3 separate regions of the Homo sapiens genome follow, and all the other regions are linked to region 1. Evidence: promoter capture Hi-C in 16 types of primary human blood cells and fetal thymus (Javierre and others, 2016). All regions are on one chromosome and are shown on one strand. The core of a region is centred on a gene start or on the middle of the fragment in contact, and the rest is flanking DNA. Distances in the headings are between cores, read along the strand shown.

Region 1 (3,773 bases), core at 523-3,022:
CAATAAAGTTATTAATTTGTGGGTAATAATTTTGCTTTATTGAATTTTTATAATGTTTCTAATAGTTTTTCAGTTATTTCTCTTTGGGTTTCCAGGTAAACAATCGTATTATTAGCAAATAATGTTAATTTTACCTTCTCTTTTCTAATATTTTTATATTCTCTTACTCTTGTCTAATTGCACTGGCTAATAAAACTAGAAAAATGTTAAGTAGATGTGGTGACACTGGGCATTCTGAGCTGCTTCTAATGTTGTATCATTAGGCACAGTAAAATTACTTTTTTTTTTTTTTTTTTTTTTGAGACGGCGTCTCACTCTGCCGCCCAGGCTGGAGTGCAATGGCGTGATCTCGGCTCACTGCAGCCTCTGCCTCCCCGGCTTAAGCGATTCTCCCGCCTCGGCCTCCCAAGTAGCTGGGATTAAAGGCGTGCACCACCATGCCTGGCTAATTTTGCATTTTTAGTAGAGACAGGATTTCACTATGCTGGTCTTGAACTCCTGACCTCAAGTGATCCGCCCGCCTCGTCCTCCCAAAGTGCTGATGTATTACAGGCCTGAGCTAGCGTGCCCAGTCCCTAGAAAAAAAAAAACACCTCGTACACAGCTGACGTTCAAAAAAATGTTGACTTTCAGTGAATACTATGCTAGCACATACACACAAAAGTAGTACGGGATCATGCTACACAGAAATAAAAAACACTAAGTAAACATTTACTGAGCATCTCCTGGGTGCCAGGCACTGGACTAGGCACTGCCTTAACAGCTCTTTCGGAGTTGATTTTGAACGCATACAACGACGGAAAGAGCACCGCAGTGGGAATGTGAAGACTTAGGTTCTAATCTTTCCTCGGTCACTGATTTGATGACCTTGGGAAGTTCTTAACCAACAGATTCCACTTGCCCAAAAGGAAAGAATTTGAGTGAAGAGGAGGCCGTCTTGGAATTCATAAGGGAAAAGGCCTCAGGTTACCTCTGGCCTTCCCTCCCCACGTACTAAAGGAGAGTTTATAGCTGATGAACCACAGATGGGGCAGAGAGAAGGGCGGTGGAACTAACAGATATGGGGACACCACCAAAAATAAAACACAACGCAAAACAAAACAGCGCGGACCCCGGCCATCCCTTGCACCTCCCCTGTGAAACACGTCAACGTCAGTTACGCTCTCTCGTGACGGGAATGCAGAATCTGGGCTGCCGGGCACCATTTCGCGAACCCCAAATTCTCACACGCACCCCATAACGTTCCGCCGGCTCCCAGGCCCGGCTGGGGGAACTAAACTTTCATCCTCCATCTCCCGGTCCCGGACGGCCCCCTAGAACGCGGGCAAGGTATCTAGGCCGACGGCCCCTCATGGGGACCCAGGCCTTCTTACTCTTTTGGGGGTACATTCAAGGCTTAGAGGCCACCCCAGACACCATCTCCGGAAGAGTGACGTCGGAGGACGAGGGGGCAACGGAAAGGTCAAAAAGGTCGGGGAGTTTCGTTCGCGGAGCCGCACCCCTCGGCTGAGACCCGGGCCTGCTCGGGGGCGGAGAGGAGGCCGGGCCCCAGGCTGTTGAGTGGCCGCCCTTCCAGCCAATGGACACGTCGCCCCGCCACGCTGGGGCCCGCCCCTCCCGGCTCGCTGTACTCACTTTCCCCACTTCGGCGTTGCCCATGGAGATGACTTTGATGCGGAGAGACCTGCCGGGCTCCTTCCGCTTCGGCATGTTGGCCTCCATGGCCCTGGCTCTCTCGGGGCCACCCGCCTCGGTCTCTTCTTGTGCACCGCTGGCCCGTCCCTCAGGCCTCCTCGTCCAATGGCGGAGCCGCTGCTCTCGTCACCGCCTCGCCTCCGCTGCTCGCCATCCCCGCCGCTGCCTGGCAGCAGGCGCGGGCGGTTGGGAGCGTGGGGAGCCGGGGGAGGGAGACGGGAGTCTCGCGATGCTAGCGCGGGGCTGCTGACGTCATCTGCAGGCCCTGGAGACGCGACTGCAGTTACCGAGTTTCTAAGGCCTCGTCCCCTGACGGGAAGGCGGCGTTGGGGGGCGGCTGGGTTTACCCTTCGAGGTGAGCGCGTCCTTGTTTTCAGGGACGCCCGGACGGGAGGCGTTTGTTGCTTTCGCAGCCGAGTGGTGGAAATGTATTGGCTCTTCAGGGCGGGTCTGGTAGTGTCTCGTCCGTTTGGGAGTGTTTTTTTTTTTTTCTGGATTCTTTTTCGGTTCCATGGGCCGGGCTGCTGCTCCTCTTCCCCCTCCAATATTTTGTTCCCCTTGCTCGAGATCCCCGAGAGGCAGACCCCAAAGCCAGGAAAGTGGGGAGGTCGGAACCCTGGTTCTGGAAGAGGGCCTTGGGCAAGGCGTGAAGCGATTCTGAATCTGGTTCCTATTGTTTTTTATTTTAAATGGAGTTGTCTATTTGGAGTCAAGGCAAGAGTGTTTAGTCTTGGCCCTCCTATTACAGATCTCTGATGGATTTGTTGACTCCTCTGTGGGAGAAAGGCTTGGTCTACTGCAGGTGTTAACGCTAAGCCAGGCTGGAGCTGTGGACGTCAGTTTCCTCAGCTCCCCGCTGTTCGCTTCGAACGTGACCTCGACGTCTGCTCTCCCCTTCCCTTTAGCTGACAATGTGACAGTGCTTGAATAAAAGTCAGTCTGACAGGAACGGTAATTTTTTTTCAGTGAATATCTTCAGTTACAGAAGATAAATAGAACTTGACAATGATTATTTATAGTGCCCTGAAAAAAAATGGCTGCCAATTTCCCTGTATATTACAAAGACAAAAGTAGCATTGCTTCTTTTCTCACCTAACTTTAAACATCTTAAGGGAAGTGCATTACAGGAAGGCAATGAGCAAAGGCTCAACATTTCACAGTAAAGTCAGATTTTCCACATTTTAATTTTAAAATGTGTTTTTTAAACATTAAGTTTTTTTTAAGACAAGTTTATTCTGGATTGTTTTGATAATCAAATAATATAACTTAATTCACTGAAGCTTCTAAAATTATTTACAAATATGAAATATAAGTCCTGGTTAGAATTTGGATAGTTTTAAAGCTTAAAAGAATCCACATGCTAACTTCTCAGTATGATTTAATAAATCAAATTACTAAACATGTAATTTCTTCGACAGTTCACCTTTGGCCCTGTAATAGGGTAACTGGTATTGTGGAAGAATAATTATAAAATGTCAAATCTTCAGCTGTTATGATTGATTAAGTATGGTGCTGTTGAGACTAAGCAGTAAAACATGCCACAGATTTAAATTGATTACTATTTTTTTCATATTGATGGGGTTTTTTTTGTTTTTGTTTTTGTTTTTGAGACAGAGTTTCCCTCTTGTTGCCCAGGCTAGAGTGCAGTGGCACAATCTCTGCTCACTGCAACCCCTGTGTCCCGGGTTCAAGCAATTCACCTGCCTCAGCCACCCGAGTAGCTGGGATTACAGGCACCCACCGGTATACGCAGATAATTTTTGTATTTTTAGTAGAGACGGGGTTTCACCATATTGGCCAGGCTGGTCTCGAACTCCTGACCTCAGGTGACCCTCCTGCCTTTGCCTCCCAAAGTGTTGGGATTACAGGCATGAGCCACAGCGTCCGGCCCATATTGATGCTTTTGACACTTTATTGTATATAGCTACATTTTCTACTGTGTGTATTAAATTAGTTTGGAATCGAAAGAGCAAGAAAGTTGTTTTTTTTCCCCCACTCTTTGAATATAAAAAAATAAAAATCAGCACGAGTTAGCTGCTTTTTCCATAGTATGGACCTGGGAGGTATAGTGTGAGCAT
Region 2 (3,773 bases), core at 568-3,067, 200 kb after region 1:
CATCATCTCAGCTTTTCACCTTTGAGGTTTTAATTGGAAAAGAGATGTCACCAGGGTGTGAGTGCGTTACAAGGGCAGGTGCAGGGGAGGCTGATGACTGAGAGGACAGAAACAAGGACAGGGTGGCAGAGCCCAACATGGGGCAGGGGATAAGGAGGTACAAGGAGGGTGGCCTCGTTGTCAGCCTCCAGGCATTGGGACTGGCAATGGGGGACATTACCCTGGGAGAAGAGAAGACTTAGGGATGAAGCTGCCTCATGTCTGTGGGGGACTTTGCTGGAATAAGCACCAATTCATGCCTTAAGGGTCTGAACGAGGAGCCCCAGCTCCACCTTGGCACGCCCTTCTTCATTCTCTCTCCATAGTCTCCATGGACAAGCTGGGGGCAGCTGCCATCCCTGTCTCATGGAATAACAATTGTCCCTTCTCGGAACTCCTTAGGCTCAGCCAGGGCCTCTTCATTCCTGCTGTTGTTTGGTCTAGAGGGGCCCTTGGGCTGCTCAGCTGGTGCCGGTTGCCTCTAAGGGCACAGCTCCCATAATCAGTGCCTGGTAGAGAGTTGGTGCTTGAAAAATATTTGTACAGCAAGGGTAGGAGGGGATGAATGAGGAAGGGAGACCCTCTCCCTCTTAACCCTCAGTTTGCAGAAACTCATGATTCTCCAAAACCCTCTTTGTCAGAGGCGTTTGAACCAGAGCAACTCCATCTTGAATAGGGACTGGGTAAAATGAGGCTGAGACCTACTGGGCTGCATTCCCAGATGGTTAGGCATTCTAAGTCATTGGATGAGATAGGAGGTCGGCACAAGATACAGGTTATAAAGACCTTGCTGATAAAACAGTTTGCAGTAAAGAAGCCGGCCAAAACCCACCAAAACAAAGATGGCCACTGAGAGAGTGACCTCTGGTCCTCACTGCTACACTCCCACCAGCGCCATGACAGTTTACAGATGCCATGGCAATGTCAGGAAGTCACCCTATATGGTCTAAAAGGGGAAACATAAATAATCCACCCCTTGTTTAGCATACCATCAAGAAATAACCATAAAAATAGTTAACCAGGCCAGGCGTGGTGGCTCAAGCCTGTAATCCCAGCACTTTGGGAGGTCGTGGCAGGTGGATCACGAGGTCAGGAGTTCAAGACCAGCCTGTCCAAGATGGTGAAACTCTGTCTCTACTAAAAATACAAAAATTAGCCGGGCGTGGTGGCAGACGCCTGTAATCCCAGCTACTTGGGAGGCTGAGGTAGAGAATTGCTTGAGCCTGGGAGACGGAGGTTGCAGTGAGCTGAGATCACGCCACTGCACTCCAGCCTGGGCAACAGAGTAAGACTCTGTCTCAGAAAAAAAAAAAAAAAGTTAACCAGCAGCCCTCCAGGTCGCTCTGCCTATGGAGTAGCCATTCTTTCATTCCTTTACTTTCCTAATAAATAAACTTGCTTTCACTTTAATCTATGGACTTGCCCAGAATTCTTTTTTGCGTGAAATCCAAGGACCCTCTTTTGGGGTCCGGATTGGGATTCCTTTCCAGTAACATCTCCGTACTCCCTCTGTAGGACACATGAACCTGAAACAGGGAAGTGCCTCCTCTTCATTGTGTCTGAATGAGAAATAGCCCAGTATCTTCCCCTTTATGTGGGCATTCAAGAATCGTGAGCACTTTCAAGAAATCCTAACTACCGCTAAAATTGCACTGGGGCTCAGAAAATTATACCCCAAAATATGGAACTAAAGAAGCAGCTTCAGTTCCTTTGAAGAACCTTCAAAATCTCGCCCTGACCTTCCCCTCACTCCCTGTCTCTCTGATTTTTTCCAAAACACCAGAAGGTACTGTCTTTGGCATTTCCATATCTGACTAAGGAAACTTCTTTCTAAAAGAAATACAATTGCCTGAAGCCTCCCTTCATAGGAATCTCATCAAATAACCAGGAAAGAAAGATTAACCACCTGAGAAGAGACGGATCATCACCGCCTCCAGACAGACTTTTCTTGCATTTTTCTGAGGGCAACTCCAAGAGATAGCCTAGGGGGGTTACCTGCATAATAAGACAGGCTGCGTTCACAATGACTTTCTGCTTCTCACCTTCACACCACCTACCCAAAGAACAGAGAAGAACTTTGTCCCAGGCCATTGTTCCTCGGGCGCATTCACTTTCCCAGAAAATCATTTACTCCTATGCCCCTCATTTTCCCTTCCCCTATCAAGAAATATCTGCAGGCATCTGGACCTCATTGAGTTACTGGGTAATCATTCTCCCACCATTCTGCTATGCTATACACATGAAATTAATTTGTATGTCTTGTTCCCCTATTAATCTGTCTATTAGCAGTTCATTTTCAACAAAACTTCAGAGGGCAGAGTGAAGGAAGGAAATTTTCTCTTGGCACCCACAATTGTCAATAGAAACCCTAATTAAGCATCCCTCTGAGGGGAGCCTGATGTGGTTTGCAGGGCAGACAGGGAGCTGCCTCCAGAAAAGGGCCTGAAGCCTGAAGCACTGCAGAGGAGAGGGTTACTGGTGCCCCAGATGGCCCTACAATTCAGGCGGATCCCACTGCCCCGCTTCACCCCTGCAACACGCCCTCCCCAGTCTCAGCCTTTTCATTGAGCTTCTCTCATGCAGCACTGCAGCTGGGCTACTTCACCAGCCTTCGGTTTGACCTCAAGGGCAAAGAGGAATCAATTTGTGCAGAGAACTGGAATGAAAGAGATTTCAATTGACCTTTGAATGGGGTTTTAATTTGCTTTATTCCAGCCAAAGGGACCTCGTGAAGAGACCCTTGAGACTGCTTTTATCCACTAATGCGCGCATTAGTGCAGCAGCCTGGGCCAAGGTCTGCATGGTCTGGGTGCCGCAGAGCACAGTGGGGAGGGCCAGAGTCCATGCCCCTCCCTAGAGCAGGTTGTCAGCACCCTCAGGGTCCAAAGCAGAGTCAAGAGTGGAGGAAGGGCCTAGGTAATATGGTGGAACCCCATTTCTACAAATATATATATATATATACACGTATATACACACACATACAAAAATTAGCCGGGCATGGTGGCACACGCCTGTAGTCCCAGCTCCTTAGGAGGCTGAGGTGGGAGGATCACTTGAACCTGGGAGGTGGAGGCTGCAGTGAGCCATGATCATGCCACTGCACTTCAGCCTGGGCAACAGAGCCAAACCCTGCCTCAGAAAAAAAAAAAAATAGAGTGGAGGAAGAAGCAGTGGGAGGGGGTGAGGTGACCTGGGTTCTAGCCCCAGCTCTGTGGCCAGCAGACACAGGGACCTGGGTCAGTCACTCCCCCCACCCCCACCCCACCTCCAGGCCTCAGCCCCCTCATTTGAACAATGGGGGCGGGGAGGATGTGGTCCGTTTCAGGCCTGTCATTCTATGATTCTAGGCTCAGATCTAGAGTCAAGCTCTGTGATTAAAAAACAAACAAACAATAGTCTTACAGAACGTGGCCCCTAATGGGCACAGCTGAGTCCTCTGGGCTGAGGAGGTAAGCTCTGTCCTTCTGTCTCTTGGGCCTTTCTCGTGTCCTGTTTCTCTCTGAGAATCTGCTCCAGTCTGCACACATGGGCAGGCCAGTTCTCTGCTCTGTTCACTCTGAATCCCAGAGGAAACTAATGGGGCCACTAATTACCAGCACTCCTGCTGCAGGCAGCCACCCATGGGGTCCAAGTGGCCTGTGGAAAGCCAGCCCTGATCAAAGAGCCCTCTGCAGCCGCTCCTCACACAGAGCCAGTTCCATGGGACACCCCAGTAGAGAGCCTGTAAGTTTGTG
Region 3 (3,773 bases), core at 692-3,191, 180 kb after region 1:
TAGAGAGGGGGTTTCACCATGATGGCCAGGCTGGTCTCAAACTCCTGACCTCAAGATGTCCTCCTGCCTCGGCCTCCCAAAATGCTGGGATTACAAGTGTGAGCCACCGTGCCCAGCCTCAATGTCCCTTTTCAAAATACCCACAGAGTACTCAAAGGACCAACTGTTCAGGACCTTCAATTTAAGAGTCCCGGTGGGAGAGCAGCTACTTGGGGCTGTAAGAGCCCCGCTGAAAGGGCCTCCCACATAGTTCTCAAATTCTTACATGAGGAAGAAGGCTGAGCCCTCAGGCAGAATCAGGAAGAGGTCCCACCTTCCAGGGCCAAGTGAGGGCACCGCACCTCCACGCCACTGTCCCCTACTCTTCAGAAGAGGGGAGAGCCCAAGCAATGCTCATGGACAGTGCTCCCTGGAGGAGTCCCTCCCTTCACCTCAGTGAGCAGGGCCTGGCACTAACCCAGCTCTCTGTGTCGAAGTGGACAGCGTAGCAGTGGAGGAGCAGGAGCGTGAGCGGCGGCGGCAGGTGGTGGAGAAGTTCCAGAAGGCACCCTTCGAGGAGATTGCTGCACACTGCGGGGCCCGGGTAAGTGAAGCATGACATGGGCGAGTCCCTGGGAGCCAAGTCAAGACTGAATTTGGGTCCAGGACAGGATTAAGTTCCTAGGAGATCTTGGCTCTTTGACCACCAACCTCCCCCACCCCCACCCTGCCAGACATCAGGGCTTGTATTCCAATGCAGGGAGCTCCGCTGTTGCCCTGCCAGGCTTTCCCCAACACCCTGGCGCTGCACTGCTCCCCTATGAACCAAAAGACTTGGGTGTTTGTCTTGGGTCTCTCTGAGACCTCACACTTCTCACATAAGGAAGAAGTCCTGAGCTGAGGCACCTGTCTGGCAGTCAGATCATGCTCACTGTGGTCCTGACAGCAGGCACGTGAACAGCACTCACTGCGGATGACAGCTTCTTCTATTGATGAGCCGCTTTCATTCTCATGATAACTCCATGAAGTTGGTGCCATTATGATCCCCATGTTACAGAGTGATGGGGGAGGGGTGTGTGGCAAAGGAAGATGGTCAACGTTGGCAGCAGGACCCTCTTCCAACCAGGGTACCTTGGCAGGGGGATGGAACAGCCAGGCCTTGGCAAAGAGATCAGAGAGAGAGGCAGCTGGACATGTAGAAATGAGGAGCCATGCCTAGACTGGAGGGAGGAGCTCAGACAATCTTGAAATTGATTCTATGCCGGGATTTATTAGCCCCGAATGTCAAGCTTAGTAACAATGAAACATAACTGTAAACATTCAAAATCTACAAATAACCTATTCTCCTAACAAAATATAATATGTATAAATATTTTATATATAATATTCATATAGAAGTGTGTGTGTGTGTGTGTGTGTGTGTGTGTATATAAAACACATATAGATTTTCCTGGGCCTGTATTGTTCTAACCTCTCATCCCACTTTGAGAGGGATGCCCATGTTATGAGCTAGGAATCAGGGCCCAGTCACGGAACACGTGCAGTCCCACTCTCTGCATTCATTAACCTCATTAGAGCCAGAAGTAATCAGAGATCATCTCTAAGCCACCAGTTTTGCACAGCTGCTCCTTGCAAGTTAGAAAAGAGCTGGCACAGGCTGGGCACAGTGGCTCATGCCTGTACTCCCAGCACTTTGGGAGGCTGAGGCAGGCAGATCACCTGAGGTCAGGAGTTCGAGACCAGCCTGGCCAACATAGCAAAACTCCATCTCTACTAAAAATACAAAAATTAGCCGGGCATGGTGGCAGGCACCTGTAATCCCAGCTACTCAGGAGGCTGAGTTGGGAGACTTACTTGAACCCAGGAGGTAGAGGTTGCAGTGAGCTGAGGTCATGCCACCGCACTCCAGCCTGGGTAACAGAGCAAGACTCCTTCTCAATTAAAAAAAAGAAAAGAAAAGAGCCGGCACTAGTGCAGTCTCCCGACTCCATGCCCAGCAGCCCCTACTGCCCCATCTTAAGGAAAAGGACCTTCCAGAACTGCCTGCTGACGTCCTCCCTGGTGATTCTGAGCCTCTGTCCTGTCCCCAGCCAGCCTTCAGTAGGTGGCTTTCCCTGATCCGAATCTGCAGTCAGGGTCCAGTGGATGAGTGCTGGAGCGTGTTCACCTCTGCCTGCCTTCCTAAGGCTGTGGCTGCCCTGTACCTCCAGCGTATACTCTGGACACCCTGAGCCAGCTGGCAGAGGTTCTGGACCCCCCACCCCTGCCAGCTCACTTCCGTGTGTTTGTGTCTAGGCATCGCTGCTCCAGAGCAAACTCAATCAGATCTTTGAAATCACCATCCGGTAAGTGACAACCCTGGGCAGGGGACCCTGACCTCCGTGGCCCAGTATTGGGGTTCCTCATCCTGAGTCCTCTCACCCCTGTCTTCTCTTCTCTCCTCCCCACCTCCTTCTACCACTGTAATCTCTATCCCCTGGGCTGGAGTCAGCCACCAACTCTAACCCTCCCTAGACAAGGAAATAGAGACCAGAGAGGGAAAGAGCCTGCCTCAATGAAACCTGGAAAGACGCAAGAGTCCTAGTGTTCCGGGCTGGCACTTTCTAAAGCAGCAGTGTCACTGCGGAGCCTGCAGGGAAGCTTGACTCCAAGCTGTAGATTCTAGTAGAACGTGGAATCCTGGGAACCTGTGGAATGAAGGGGTCTCTGGTGCCTGTGCAAAAAGAAACCCAAGTCACCTACTCTGTTTGGTTGCACAAGGGTGGGATCCTAAAATTCTCTTTTCATGCCTTTCTCCCCATGTGTTCCTGCCCCCTAGGCCCCCACCAAGCCCATCAGGAACCATCACTGCAGCCTACGGTCAGCCGCAGAACCACTCCATCCCCGTCTATGAAATGAAGTTTCCCGATCTGTGTGTATACTGAATTCCAAGAGCCTGAGCTCCTCAAGGAGATGGGGTCTGAGGAGGGGCTCACCTCACGCCCACCCCGACCACATGGAGATCTGGCTGTGATCTCTGAGAAAACATCACCTTAGATGGCAGCGCCTCCCAGGCTAAGCCAAGGTGGAGACTCTCTGGTCCTTCTTGGCCCTCCTACCTCCTCCTCGTCTTCCCTGAGGGAGGTCTCACCAATCAGCATCTCACCTGTGCCCTCTTTGTCTTCTCTTGTGTCAGCCAGGGGCAGAGAATCATGGGGTGTCTCTCAGGAGAAGCCGGGGGGAGGGGGCTGAGAAGCTCCTACTTGGTGTTTTGAGTGAAGGGCATGTCCTCCCCAGAGGACGGAGCTGGATGGAGACTTGGTTGGTGAGAGGAAGCTAAGGACTCTACTCCCCTGGGGAAGGAAGCTGAGATGGGGATGGCTCTCTCCTCCCCAGCACTCCCCCTGCTCCCCGCCCATGTCCCTGCTGTGTCTCTCACTCTCTTGCTCATCTCCCAGTTGTCTGTTCATGTTTCTTTCTACTATTAATGAATGCTGAGCCCTTATAACAGGAGCTGGGGTGGAGACATCACGAGGGGTCGGGGGACAGCAAAGGGCAGGAAGCAGGATGCAGGGCTGGCAGGAGGTGGGCCTGTGGCATCAGCAGGCCCAGCGGGCGAGTGTGGTCCCTGCAGCAGCTTCCCACCTCCTTTGTTCATAAGGAGCTTGTGTTGGCCTCCCACAGTCCTGTCTGCTGGACGTTTTTCAGAGTTGGGTTCTCTCTCTTTGATGTCTTTCTTCTGAGGGTCCCAAGGTGTTCCTGGAGCTTCTGGGTTGAGGAAAGGCAGAGCAAGATAATCTTGGAGGGGAACTACA

The links. The method cuts DNA at HindIII sites, captures the fragments that hold promoters and counts their contacts. A CHiCAGO score of 5 or more calls a contact.
Region 2: a contact is called between a fragment that was not itself captured here and the fragment with the promoter of DNAJC27 in region 1, in 1 of 17 cell types (M1 macrophages). The highest score is 5.1, in M1 macrophages.
Region 3: a fragment that was not itself captured here is called in contact with the fragment with the promoter of DNAJC27 in region 1 in 3 of 17 cell types (M1 macrophages, M0 macrophages and endothelial precursors); the score reaches 5.8 in M1 macrophages.

What each region holds. Positions count from the first base shown.
Region 1 is chr2:24,970,183-24,973,955 of GRCh38, forward strand. It overlaps DNAJC27 (DnaJ heat shock protein family (Hsp40) member C27), which reads right to left and starts at 1,773. Exons shown (of 7, transcript NM_016544.3): 1 at 1,636-1,773. The coding sequence starts at 1,722. DNAJC27-AS1 (DNAJC27 antisense RNA 1) reads left to right here and starts at 1,930. Exons shown (of 3, transcript NR_034113.1): 1 at 1,930-2,050. RefSeq lists enhancers at 1,184-1,313, 1,267-1,785, 1,324-1,433, 1,694-1,803, 1,786-2,304 and 2 more and a silencer at 1,484-1,563. The HindIII fragment of the contact is 9,578 bases long and covers 1-2,973 here.
Region 2 is chr2:25,174,728-25,178,500 of GRCh38, forward strand. No RefSeq gene overlaps it. Among named protein-coding and RNA genes, the nearest start is that of POMC, 8.0 kb to the left of the region's middle. RefSeq lists an enhancer at 2,204-3,773. The HindIII fragment of the contact is 4,865 bases long and covers 1-3,773 here.
Region 3 is chr2:25,151,438-25,155,210 of GRCh38, forward strand. It overlaps EFR3B (EFR3 homolog B), which reads left to right. Exons shown (of 23, transcript NM_014971.2): 21 at 477-583; 22 at 2,275-2,324; 23 at 2,798-3,773. The coding sequence ends at 2,903. Among named protein-coding and RNA genes, the nearest start is that of POMC, 15 kb to the right of the region's middle. The HindIII fragment of the contact is 1,351 bases long and covers 1,267-2,617 here.